Linked DNA regions of Homo sapiens: regions 2, 3 and 4 are each linked to region 1. Evidence: promoter capture Hi-C in 16 types of primary human blood cells and fetal thymus (Javierre and others, 2016). All regions are on one chromosome and are shown on one strand. Each heading gives the region's core, a stretch centred on a gene start or on the middle of the fragment in contact. The rest is flanking DNA. Distances are from core to core; before and after follow the strand shown.

What was found. The method cuts DNA at HindIII sites, captures the fragments that hold promoters and counts their contacts. A CHiCAGO score of 5 or more calls a contact.
Region 2: the fragment with the promoter of FNBP1L here is called in contact with the fragment with the promoter of DNTTIP2 in region 1 in 15 of 17 cell types (M2 macrophages, M0 macrophages, monocytes and 12 more); the score reaches 34.9 in M2 macrophages.
Region 3: a contact is called between a fragment that was not itself captured here and the fragment with the promoter of DNTTIP2 in region 1, in 1 of 17 cell types (M1 macrophages). The highest score is 8.7, in M1 macrophages.
Region 4: a fragment that was not itself captured here is called in contact with the fragment with the promoter of DNTTIP2 in region 1 in 5 of 17 cell types (M2 macrophages, M1 macrophages, M0 macrophages and 2 more); the score reaches 12.6 in M2 macrophages.

What each region holds. Positions count from the first base shown.
Region 1 is chr1:93,877,652-93,880,733 of GRCh38, forward strand. DNTTIP2 (deoxynucleotidyltransferase terminal interacting protein 2) reads right to left here and starts at 1,555. Exons shown (of 7, transcript NM_014597.5): 1 at 1,426-1,555; 2 at 1-211. The coding sequence starts at 1,497. RefSeq lists enhancers at 1,281-1,710, 1,562-2,377. The HindIII fragment of the contact is 5,310 bases long and covers 1,064-3,082 here.
Region 2 is chr1:93,446,532-93,449,975 of GRCh38, forward strand. It overlaps FNBP1L (formin binding protein 1 like), which reads left to right and starts at 1,587. Exons shown (of 17, transcript NM_001164473.3): 1 at 1,587-1,774. The coding sequence starts at 1,751. RefSeq lists silencers at 461-755, 1,695-1,744 and an enhancer at 1,236-2,214. The HindIII fragment of the contact is 14,675 bases long and covers 1-3,444 here.
Region 3 is chr1:93,408,663-93,411,971 of GRCh38, forward strand. No RefSeq gene overlaps it. Among named protein-coding and RNA genes, the nearest start is that of FNBP1L, 38 kb to the right of the region's middle. The HindIII fragment of the contact is 171 bases long and covers 1,557-1,727 here.
Region 4 is chr1:93,427,532-93,430,818 of GRCh38, forward strand. No RefSeq gene overlaps it. Among named protein-coding and RNA genes, the nearest start is that of FNBP1L, 19 kb to the right of the region's middle. The HindIII fragment of the contact is 889 bases long and covers 1,566-2,454 here.

The DNA of each region.
Region 1 (3,082 bases), core at 305-2,804:
AATAATTTGACTCTGCCTCAGAGGTTTCTCCATCCGTAGATGGTTCAGTCCCCTTTGGTAGTGAGCCTGTAGTTCTGCTCTTCCTCTTTCTAGCTTTAGGAGTTCTAGGGATTAAACTTTGCTTCCCAGTGGTCTGTGATTCAGCAGTAGTTCGGGCATCAGATCCAGTACTACTTTCTGGATGCGCTTGAATCCCATTAGCAGCAAAACTCTGCAAACCAGAGAAAACACACTGTAATTTAGGTAGGGCTGGAACAAGGGCAAAGCAAATGAAATACTGACCCCAAAAGCTAAAACCCAGTAAACAAGATTACCTTTAAAACAAAAAACAAAAAAACCTGCCCAACTCATGATTTTTAAAAAATCAAAATTTGGCCGGGCGCGGTGGCTTACGGCTGTAATCCCAGCACTCTGGGAGGCCGAGGCAGGTGGATCACGAGGTCAGGAGTTCGAGACAGCTTGGCCAACATAGTGAAACCCCATCTCTACTCAAAGTAAAAAAATTAGCGGGGCGTGTTGGTGCGCACCTGTAATCCCAACTACTCAGGAGCCTGAGGCAGAAGAATTGTTGGAATCCGGGAGGCAGAAGTTGCAGTGAGCCGAGGCTGCGCCACTGCACTCTAGCCTGGGCGACAGAGCAAGACTCCGAATCAAAAACAAACAAACAAAAAAATCAAAATTTAAACACTGGAGCCAACCCTGCATTTACTTCACTAGCCTCATCCTTCCTAGATGTAACTTCAGAAGCAGAACGATTAAAATTTTTCTGTTTAAAGTCAAATATAATGGGTAGACCAACATTCTGACCCACCTATAGAAGAGGGGAGAAAGGGAATATTAACTCTGAACACCGATGTGTTTAGGAACACACTGATGGAATCAGTCGCCGCCCTTACCTTTACGTACAGGAAAAAATCGCCGCCGCTCCGTTCCCTGCATCGCTGAGTCAGAATGAGACAGCCGACTAACGCCACTAAGAGTCACCAGGCGACGACACCACAGCCCTCCTCACGCCTTAAGGAGGTGATGCTGGACAGCTGCCAGCCTCCCCACGTGAAAACGAAGCTTTTTTTCCAGCCCCCCTAAATGGGGCTTGTGCATGGTGGCCGAAATTAACCCTCCTTGGTACCGTGTTAACAGTAAGGTTTAAAAGTTCGAACTGTGCTTCTGCATTAAGGAGTTGAACGACCCAAATAAAGTTATCTAACCTCTCTTCCATACTAAAAATTGCCTTAAGAGACAGTGGTGAAGGCTAAACAGTTTCCGTGACAGGCTTAGCACGGGGCCTGGGAGACCCAAGCGCGCGGCAAGCTCGGGTCCTCTCTGTCGGCAGGTCCTCACCCTTAACCGGACCCTTGCGCCGCCCCGCCTGCCTGAGCGCGGCTCTGCGAAGCGGCGAGAAGTAGGGAAGACTGGATTTCCTACCTTTTGCCCGGAACTTTCAGCCGACGCGGCTTGGATGCTGGCCTTAGCCCGTGCAGATCTGGTAACCACCATCTTTCCGGCTCCCTCGCGACCACCACGACTTCCCTCTTCCCTGGCGCTCCGGAAATGCGTCAGAGAACTGCCTCGAGCGCGTTTTCCGCGCAGATCCGAGAATTCGCGAGAATCTCCGCCCAGCCAGTTCAGGCCAGGGCGGTCAGAGACAAAGGGCCTGGGTTTAAGTGTGCATTTCAGAGCTGTAGAAGGCAAGCCAGATTTTTGCTGGGAAAGACCTTCATCGGGGCGGCGAAGCCCGCAGTGACAGAGGGTCTTAGCGTACCCGTTCACATGAATTGTAAAAACGCACTTACATGCCATTCGTTCTTTCATTTGTTTAGTAGAATCGTTTGAACCCGGGAGGCGTTCTTTCATTTCTACGTTCTAAAGAGCTTAATGTAGCCATTGGTATGTCCAAGGGAGAAGTTTGAGATATTTGTGCTTTTTAAAGAAAGACAATATTTACTCGTGTATTGTGACGCTAACTATAAATAAAATTTAAGGACTTGGTTGGGGTAAAAGGGATATAAGGTGCTCGCAGGAACTGGGAGACGAAGTGGAAAGCTGTATAATCTAAACGTGAGATGGTGTTTAGGGATTGGGAATAGCAGAAAAGAAAAAAACGTTAAAGAAATTGTAAAGGAGAAGAATAAGGTTTTGTTGTTGTTGTTGTTGTTGTTATTGTCACAGTGAAAGGAAGAGTATGACCAGAATCAAGAGGTTTCTTTGGTTATCTTTTGAGATAAAAGGTAGAGAACTATGTTTGAGGGGATGGGAAGGGGTTGAAAAAATAAGTAAACGCAAATTATTGTTGGAGGTGAGAAAGGATGAATGAGTGCCTCACCAAACCTAGTCTCTACTTCATGACAGAAAACCAATTTTTTATTTAAAGTCACAGAACACTGTGTCGATGGACACACTGCTTCCCAGCTTAAAATAGCTTATTTTATAGTCTCTCTTGCAGCCAAATGTGGCTATGTGACTACGTTTTAGCCAATTAGGTATAAATTGTGTGCATGTCTTTAGGGACGGCATCTAAAAGAGAGGAGGCCGTCCCTGACTTTTTTTTTTGGAGACGGAGTCTTGCTCTGTCGCCCAGGGTGGAGTGCAATGGCGCAATCTTGGGTCACTGCAACCTCCGCCTCCCGGGTTCAAGCGATTCTCCTGCTTCAGCCTCCTGAGTAGCTGAGATTACAGGCGCCCGCCACCATTCCTGGCTAATTTTTTTTTTGTATTTTTAGTAGAGACGGGGTTTCACCATGTTGGGCAGGCTGGTCTTGAACTCCTGCCTTCAGGTGATTCACCCGCCTCGGCCTCTCAAAGTGCTGGGATTACAGTGCTGGGATTATAGGCCTAAACGACCTCGCCCAGCCCTCCTGATCTTTTAAAGTGCATTTTACTTCCTGGAAAGTTGGGTTCGCTGGTTTTCAGGCGGCAAGTTTGTGCCATAAGGATGAAGGCATGCTTTAGAGATGGCATAGCAGTGAGATGGAAAAATCAACTTGTGGAGCTGCCCTATGAGCCCTCAAGAGCCGCCTTCTAGATTTTTCACCTGATGGAAACACCTTGTTAAAAGCCACTGTTAATTAAGGATTTTTCTATT
Region 2 (3,444 bases), core at 337-2,836, 430 kb before region 1:
AATCCATTTCCCCTTACTAATTAATGTTACTTGCAATTGCAAAATACATTCATGATTCTAGGGAGTGATAGGAAGTGATGGGAGAGGCGGTTAACAGTGTTAGGTGACATAAATAAACGAAGAAATTATTTTGGAATAGAGGCAATGTAGAAAAATGTTAGAAAGTGTTGTTCAATCCTTCACAGGCTTTTCACTGCATGGTACAAAGTTAAGCATTTAAAAATTGGCTATAACCCACTTGGAAGAGGGCATTTGTATGCTTAAAGTGGCCTCAGAAAAGGACAGCAGAGAATTTAGGAAGATTAGCAACTGGACTGTCAGGCGAACTCAGGCTGTTGGCCTCAACTCCAAGAGGGAGCGCAGCTAGGCAAAAGAATACGGATTAAGCGGAAGAGGTTGGAACACCTGTCCAGGCCAGGTAGGGGAGGAGTTTCAATGCTGACAAAGAACCCGTTGGGAGAGCTTCCTAAAACACCCAGCTGTCATGACGCACTGAGGAGTACTCTACTAGTTGACTGTTTTGAAGTGTGTGTGTGTGCGCTTGCTTGCTTTAGGAGACAAGCTATTAATACTAAAGCATATGTTAGGGAGTTGCTCAGCGTACTTGATATCTAGTAGCACCAGCCAAACTAGCTAACAGCCTTTCCATGGAGATAGGCCAGGAAGTAGCTCCATAGAGAAAAAAGGAAGTAGTGGACCTGCCTCCAAGGTTCCGATACTGGGAGGTGAAAGAGATCTGAAGTTCCGAATAAGCTGTTTACACTACCAGAGAAAAATCTGGCTCCCATCCAACCCTCACCCACGAGGTGCCCATTCCAGACATGGGGCAAGCTGCCTTCTCATCTTCCGCAGGTGACAGCTCGGCTCACATTTGTCCACGTCTTCCATCTCGTGCGCTGGCAACATACCTAAATGATTACTGGAAGAGCTGCCTCTTTTTATAATTTCCTGACAGAATTTATAAAATTAAAATATTTAATTAAAGACAGAATCGGGGACATGTTGCCTTCACATTTGCTGTTCAACCTGTGCACATTTTGGTGGTTCCCAAGAATCGTCATGCCAAAGCATCAGGCTTGAAAGGAGAGATCACCTTAAGCATCAAGATTTAAAAAAATAAAACACAACTCTCCTCAGTCTAAACTCTAGGATTTGGATGACGCTTCCCTGTCAAGGTTTCTCCCGAGTGGAGGAGACAAGAGGCAGGAAAGGCAGGTAACTAAAATTGCCTCATGTAAAGGGGCTCAGCGCAGAGGAGGAATGAGATAATAGCGGCGGTGGGGGTCTTTTCCCTTCTCTCCCTTTCTATCTTGGAAACAGGGGTCCGACTGGCAGCGGAGTGGGGGCAGTCCAAGCTCCGGGGTACCTGCAGGAGGAGACTCGACCAGCGAGAGGGGCCAGCGAGGGTGACCAGGTGCCCGCTTGGGGACCCCGCCGGCGGTGGCCAGGCTAGCCCAGGTCCTCCCCGATCCCAGGATGCACTGCGCCCCGCCCCCTCCCCGCGCCGCGTTCCGCCTCCCCTCGGCCCCGGCCCCCTCCCGCCCAGCGCGGGGAGGCGGGGACGCGTCGGCGGCGGAGGCTTCTCCAGTCGCGTCTTTCTCACTCACTGGGGAGCCCGGCGGTGGCGGCACCTTTCGAGGTAGACCCGCTGAGCTGCTAGCCCGCCGGCCAGCGAGTGAGAGGTCGGACAGACTGTGGAGCCGACAGACTGAAGGACAGCGGCACCGCCAGACGGCCAGAAAGTTCCGCCATGAGCTGGGGCACGGAGCTGTGGGTGAGTCGGGGAGAGGGGCGCCCCGCACGGACCCCGGCCCCTGAGAAGCGCGGGTTGGGCGGGCGCCGCGGACCCTCGGCGGTGAAAGCGCGCTCCGCCGTCCTCGGTCCGGCGCTGGCGGAGGGTGAGGGTCCCGCTCGTCTTTGTGTGCAGACTCCTCTTCCCTTCTCGGCCGGGGGTCTAGGGGGCCGCTAGTCCGTGCTCCCGCCTTTGCCGCCGTGGTGCAGCTCGGGCGGCGCCCGGGACGGCCGGGGGAGCAGCCCGCGGGCTCCTGCGTGCGCCGTGATCCCCTCTTGTTCCTTCTCCCTCCTCCACCTTCACTTTTCCCGACGCCTGGCTTCGCGCCCGGCGGCTCCTCTCTTCCTTTGTATCTCTCCTCCCGGAGGCGGGGGAGGGGGCCCATTGTCCCCAAGGGGCGCTGTTCGAGGGCGGGGAGGGGACCGGCCGCGATTCCTCGCCCGGGCCAGGTCCGCGGGGCTAGGGCGTCGCCCGTCTGGGGCGGCGCCGCCCAGAGCCCTCGCCCCAGGTATGGGGACCCAGGCGGCTTTGTTCGGAGCCCGGCCTCGGGCCAGCCAGGCCCAGCCCACACGCACATTTCTCTCTCCCTGCCTCAGTGCTTCGGGCGGGCACAGCTTCGAGGGACTCCGGTTTGGCCACCCCCGGCTGCAGCCTTTGGGCTGGTGGGTTGGTTTTGGGGGCTGAATTAAATCGAGTGATCGATGAGGAAGCTAATTTTACCAAAAGGAGCGTACGGTCTCCCTGTTGCTTTACTTCCCTTTCCGTTCTTTATTCTCACTTGTTCTTTCTCCTTCGTTCTCTCCTTTCCTTTCCTCCTTGCCTTTCTTTGGCACAGGAGGCTCCAGACAATGCCCAGTGTCTGGCCAAGGTACGGGCGGAGGGTAATAGGTCGGAGAATTTGCTCCTGGCGCCGGCGCGGAAGGGTCGAGGTGTGGAGGGCAGTGATTTCTCAGGTGCGGAGGGCAGTGATTTCTCAGGTGCGGCCGGGAGAACTGGGGGCGTGGGGGCGCTGTCCCGAGAGCCGCCTGGCCTCAGCCACTCCCCTTTTTATTCCACCTGTGCCTGTTTTCCGTGCCTTTTGTTCGCGAGGATCTCGTGAAATCACTGCAGAGAAAGGGGAGAAATAACTTTTGAGTATGTGTGTGCCCAGCTAGGGTGGGAGTGAAAGCCAATGGGTTAATTGAAAGGCAAAATGTTTTCTTATTTTTCACGTCTACTCATAGATTGGGAATCTTAGAACTGTGAGACTTTAGAGTCCATCTAGTGAATGCTTTACTTAGCCAGCCAGGAATCTCTTGTGCAACATTCTGTACAAGTGCTTACCCAGTCTGAAAACACACCACCCAAGAGAAAATACCTTAGGAGCCCCTTCATTCCGTTTCTTAGATAGCATTAATTGTTCTTATATTGGGGAGGATTGCATGGTAAATGAATTACATAAAGTTTAATTCTTTTACATTGGTTAGTTTCTCAGGCATTATTGGCCTTTTTCCCTTACACTTTGTGCATTCTATAATTGATTATAGTGAATTATCAATGAAAGGAAATGGGTATAGTTTTATTTTAAATTTTTAAATTTTTTATTTTTTTCATGCCTACCAGAGTGCATTCATTCGTTTTTATAATTACAAAATATTTTAACTTTTGCCTAC
Region 3 (3,309 bases), core at 392-2,891, 470 kb before region 1:
TCTGCTCCAGGGCCAGAGCCTGCATGGAGAACCTTTACTAAGGCAGTGCAGAGGGGAAATGTGGGGTTGGAGCTCCCACATAGTCCCCACTGGGGCACTTCCTAGTGAAGCTGTGAGAAAAGGGCCATCATCCTCCAGAACCCCAGAATGGCAGATCCACCTACAACTTGCACTGTGTGCCTGGAAAAGCCCCAGGCACTCAACACCAACATGTGAAAGCAGTCACAGGGGCTGTACCCTGCAGAGCCACAGAGGCAGAGCTGCCCAAGGCCTTGGGAGAACACCTCCTGTGTCAATGTGCCCTGGATGTGAGACATGGAGTCATAGGAGATTATTTTGGAGCTTTAAGATTTAATTGCTGCCCTGTTGGGTTTTGAACTTGCATGGAGCGTGTAGCCCCTTTGTTTTGGCCAATTTCTCTTATTTGGAATGGGAACATTTACCCAATGCCCGTATCCACATTGTATCTTGGAAGTAACTAACTTGCTTGTGATTTTACCTTCCCAGTAGCTGGAACTACAGGTGCATGCCACCACACCTGACTAATTTTATTTTATTTTATTTTTTGATATTTTTTTGTAGAGACAGGGTTTCACCACAGTGGCCAGGCTGGTCTTGTAAGGACTCTTGGATTAGATTTTTAAAGGCATCTCAATGCTAAGAAGCCAACTCAAGGATTCACCATTAGACTGTGCCTGTAATAACTGTACATTTGGTAGAAGGCCTCTCTTCTCAAGATCCTGGCCTCAAGTGATCTACCCACCTCAGCTTCCCAAAGTGCTGGGATTACAGGCATGAGCCACCATGCCCAGATACATCAGCATGCTTTTGATATTAATCTTCAAACTTTAGAAAAACTTATAAATAATTCCCTTCTAATTTTAGCCAACTTGATCACACATAAAATTCCTTTCCCAAGATTAATCTTCCACAAACCTTCTACGGCTTACTTAAACCTTCAGTTTTGTCCTATATTGCCTTTTTATACTGGTATTCTACCTTAGGACAAAAATTTACTTTTGCTTCCTTCTTACTATTTTGACTACACCAAGTTCTCCCTCATGCAAAAGAAAAAATTACTCTTTTCAACTTTCTTTACCAAAAATACATCTTTCTTACTTTTTTTTTTTTTTTTTTAGACAGGGTCTCTTGCTTCGTCACCCATTCTGTAATGCAGTGGCACAATCATGGCTCATTATAGCCTCGACCTCATGGGCTCAAGCAATACTGCTGCATCAGCCTCCTGAGTAGCTGGGACTACAGATGTGCATCACCATGCCTGGCTACTAAAAACATATTATAGAGATGGGGGTCTCACTATGTTACCTATGTTGTCTCAAACTCCTGGGCTCAAGCAATTCTGTCTCAGCCTCCCACAGTGCTAAGATTACAGATGTGAGCCGCAATGCCTGGCCCACATCTTACTTTCTTTGTGTACTCTGTATATAGAATTTTTTTTTATATCTTATAGTTTTAGTTATATATATATATAAACTACAATTTCAACTCTTAGCAACCCTAATATCTAAAGAAAGCCTAGGAAGTTAGTAATTTTAAGCTTACATACCAGTATTTGTAGGTGAAGCCCATTTCATAGTTTTTAGAAAGATACTCATCATTTTTTTGTTTATTAACAGATTGAAGTATATTTAGCCTTTCTATGCTATTATAAATGACTCACACATTTTATGATTATCTAATACTTAATGTAACATGACATGACTTTAAGCTTCTGAAAAAGATTTTAAAACTATGAAAATTTCATTTATAAACTTTTATTGCATTTTTATTTTATTTATTCATTCTTTTTTATTTTATTTTCATTTATTTTTTCCTTCAGATGAGATATTTATTCATTCTTATCAATTATGCTTGAACAGTTTCTTAAACAAAGCTAGCCATGAACTCAAGTTATTTGTTTGTTAATTGTTTTTACATCCTGTGAATGTTAGGCTACCTAGTATGTTAGCCACTACCTAAGCAAGAACCCTAAAGTTAAACACATGGGTATTCTGCTGTTTAGAAGACACTTCTGTTTTTATTAAAATAGCAATATTAAACTAGTCTTATTTACTAAAGATTTCCTAAGTTGTGTGAACTCAAAGGCATTTGAGTTTGTGTCTATTTTTCTGATAAAATATGTAAGTTCTTACTTTTACTTTAAGCCAATTAGAGCCCTTTCATATATTTTGATAGTAAAATTTCATGTACTCATGACATGTATAAGCATAAAAATATACAGACAGAATATACACAGACCATACACAGACAGAAGCAGATTTTATAACTTTATTAGGTTTTTCATTTGCCAATTCAAATAATTTCCCTTCCCCACTTTAGACTATCGAATCGTCAACAATTGTTAACTGGGTAACTTTAAATTTGCACTTACAAAGGACATGACTCTTAGGTGAAAATTTACATCCCAAAGGCACAGTATTTAGGTCTAAACACCATTATTTCATGAGACAAAGAAGGGCATAGGTAAAGGCCCAGTCAAGACAAGGTTGCCAGGAAAAGTGTCTTAAACAAGATAAGGTTTGTTAGGTAAACTCTAAGCCAAGCCTTCCCCATTGTAAAAATTTCTAGTGGTTTAAGAGCAGTGAGGGAGATGCCCTTACAAATGGAGATTTCTTGTATAGATGTAAATTTCTTTTACAAAGTGTTTGAAAATAGCCAGCTAAATGCCAGAAAGTCTTATTTTGGAGACAGTTACATAGGTATTTTCACTTTACCTTGTTTCTTAATTAGATTACTGACTTTAGGGTGCAGACTTTTAATGAATAGAGCAAAGAAAGCACTTGCAGTTTATTCTTCACATATTTAAGTATTAATACTTAAGTATGTGAAAGCAGGCACAACTGGAAGGCAGTGCATCTAGATCTTTAAAAATCAAGGACCCCATTTTTACATTGAACCTTGGATTCAAGGTTCAAGAAAGAGGGAAACATTCTAAGACCAGGCTGCATGATACTTCCACAGTGCACCACACTACAAAGACATTTCTCAAGGGTGGTAGGTGTCAGGTCCATGACTATGCCAATTGTCATGCCCAGGGCCAGGTTTCAGCCCATACTGAGGTCCGAGGGGAGTGGGTGGATGAGGAGATAGTTGAAAGACTATTCAGGGGGCCGTAGGCAGGTACAATGTAGTTTTATTCAGCAGCTTACTTACACTAGCTCTCTCACACTGTTCGCCTCATCTTGGCTGCTTAGTCCAGTGGCTCCCGCACACAGCTGCGTGGCCAGCTCTCCTGTCAGGGTCAGCAGCTTAACTCTTTCTCTCTCTGTGCATGAGTTGTCCAAGCTG
Region 4 (3,287 bases), core at 760-3,259, 450 kb before region 1:
TAACACAAACAGGGCTGAAACATGCCCCTTGCTTGCCACATTGCAGGTGAAGAGAAGGAGAGAAGAGCTGTGGCCCTTCGGGAAGCCCAGACCTGGGAACTCCCTGAGCTAGAGTTGTGACTCCCTCTTTGGGGTCCTGCAGTTCCTAGAGTCTCTAAGCTTCTGGGTGCCACTGCATTTCCCAGTGGCAGCCTTGGAAGCTGCTTTTGGTATGCCTGGTCCAGCCACAGCCTTGCAGAAAGCCGGCACCCATGCCGGTACTTGGAGCTTCCTGCCCCACTGCAGCAGCTGGCATGCCTGACTGTGCACAGTGGCTGGACCCCATGCTTGCTCACTCACACATCTCTCACCACTCCATGCCTGGCTTGCCCTTGGCAGCCGTAGGATCCAGGCCAGTAGCATGAGCTGAGAGGAGCCTGCCAGGCCAAGTGGGTGGAATAAGCCCAGCAGCCCCAAGCAAAACTCAGCCACAGAGGTTTCCAGCCAGAAAAGCAACAACCCAAGGATCCTGCAACAGTGAGACCCCATCTCTGCAAAAAATTTAAAAATTAGTCAAGTGTGGTAGTACATACCTGCAGTCTTAGCTATTTGAGAGGCTGAGGTAGGAGGATCACTTGAGCCTGGGAAACGAAGGTTGCAGTGAGCCGAGATCACACCACTGCACTGCAGCCTGGGTGACAGAGCAAGACCCTGTCTCAAAAAGGAAAACAGTCATTTTAAAAATAAAGTTTAAAAAATGTATATTAGAAACCCTAAAGTAACCACTAAAATACAAAACAAAGAGTTGTAGCTAATAGGCCAACTGGAGATAAAATGGAATAATAAAAAATACTCAATCCAAGAGAAGTTAACAAGAAAAAGGGGGAACAGAAAACAAATAGGACAAACAGAAAACAAAAAGTAAGATGGTAGACTTAAACCCTACCATATCCTTAATTATGTTAAGTGTAAACATCTTAAACACCCCAATTTAAAGGCAGAGATTGTCAAGTTGGGTAGAAAAGCAAGACCCAACTATATGCTGCCTATAAGAAACCCATTTGAAAAACAAAGTAACAAATAACCTAAAAATTAAAAGATGGAAAAAAATCTCATGCTAACACTAATCAAAAGAATACTAGGATGACAATATTAATTTCAGACAGAGTAGATTTCTGAGCAAAGAATATTGCCAGTGTTAAAAAGAATCATCCTAAATCCAGGTACAGTGATGTGTGCCTGTAACCCTAGCTACTCCAGATGCTGAAGCAAGAGGATCACTTGAGCCCAGGAGTTTGAGACCAGCCTGGGCAACATAGTGAAAAAAAAGTTAAAAAATTAGCTTGGTGTGGTGGCGAGTGCCTGTAGTCCCAGCTACTCAGGAGGCTAAGGTGGGAGATCACTTGAGCCCGGGAAAAATTGAGGCTACCTTGAGCCATGATTATGCCACTATACTTTAGCCTAGATGACAGAGTGAGACCCTATCTCAAAAAAAAAAAAAAAAAGAAAAGAAAATGAGATAAAACAAAGGAGTCAATTGGTCAAGAGAACTTAGCAATTCTCAATGTTTATGCACCTGATAATTAAGCTTCACATACACAAAATAAAACTGATGGAACTGCAAGGAAAAATATATAAGTTCACAATTATAGTAAGATACTTTGGCATCTTTCTCATTAGAATTTAATAGAAGAGATAAACAGAAAATCTGTAAAGATATTGAAGATTCAAACACCATAAACCAACTTGACCTAATTGAAATTTATCAAATACTTCACCCAACAGCAACAAAATACATGTTCTTTTCTAATATCCACAAAACATTTACCAAGATAAGTCATATTCTGATCAAAAACCGAGTCTCAGTAAGTTGAAAATAATTCAAATATACAAAATATGACAACAAGAAAATTAAATGGAACTCAACAACAGAAAGATATCTGAAAAATCCCCAAATAGGTGGATATTAAACATAAATAACACACTTCTAAATAACTCAAGTATCAAAAAGGCAAGCAAAAGAATGTTAGAAATTATTTGAATTGAGTAAAAAGAAAAATTTGTGAGATGATGCTAAAGCAGTGCTTAGGAGGAAATATATAGCATTAAGGGCATATATATTTTAAAAATTGTTTCAAATTAGTGACCTTAGGAAACTGTAAAAAGAAGAACAATTCAAATCCAAATCAGCCAAAGAAAGTAATAAATATAAGAGCAGAAATCAGAGAAATGGAAAACAAATAAGCAAGAAGAATAGAGAAAATCAATAAAGCCAAAAACAGATTGAGAAGATCAATAAAATTGATAAACCTGTAGCCTGACTGATAGGAGACAAAAGAAGATACACATCACTAATATTGAGAAGGAAAGGGTGACATAATTATAGGTTCTATAAACATTAAGAGGATAATAAGGGACTATTATAACTTTTTACTAATATATTCAACAACTTAAATGAAATAGGCAAGCTACCAAAGCTTACTCAAGAAGAAATAGTAATATGCAAAGTTTTATTTTTATTAAAGAAATCAAATTTTTAATTAAAAATTTTCCCATTAAGAAAACTCCAGGCCCAGATGGCTTCACTGTTGAAGTCTACCAAAATGTAAAAGCAAAATAATAACAGTTCTACAAAAATTCTTTCAGAAAATTGAAGAAGAAGAAACTTCCCCTAATTCATTATATGAGACTAGCATTCACCCGGTACCAAAACCAAACAAAAACACAGAAGATAATGAAACTGTATGCCACTGTTCTTCATGAACATTGAAATAAAATTCCTCAACAAAATGTTAGCAAAATAAATCCCGTAATGAATACAATGGTTAATATATTCTGACCAAACTAGTTTATCCCACAAATGCAAGACTGGTGAAAAAAATTAGAAAATTAACCAATGTAATTTAATCTACACACACACACACACACACACACACACACACACACACACACACACACAAATTCTTCTCAATAGCTGAAAGAAAAACATTTGACAAGGTCTTACATTCATTCCTAACGAAAACTTTCATCAGTGTAGGAATAGAAGGGAATTTCTTTTACCTGACAAAGTCCATATATAAAAAATTTACAGCTACCGTCATGGTTTATCATGAACAACTGAATGCTTTCTGTCTAAGATTCCAAAGAAAGAAAGAAATGTCCATGCTCACCTCTTTTTCTTTGACAGGTTCTCGCTTTATCACCCACACTGGAATGCAGTGGCGCTATTATGGCTCACTGCAGCCTTGACCTCCTGGGCTCAATTAATTCTCCTATCTCATCCTCCCAAGTAGCTGGGAATACAGCTG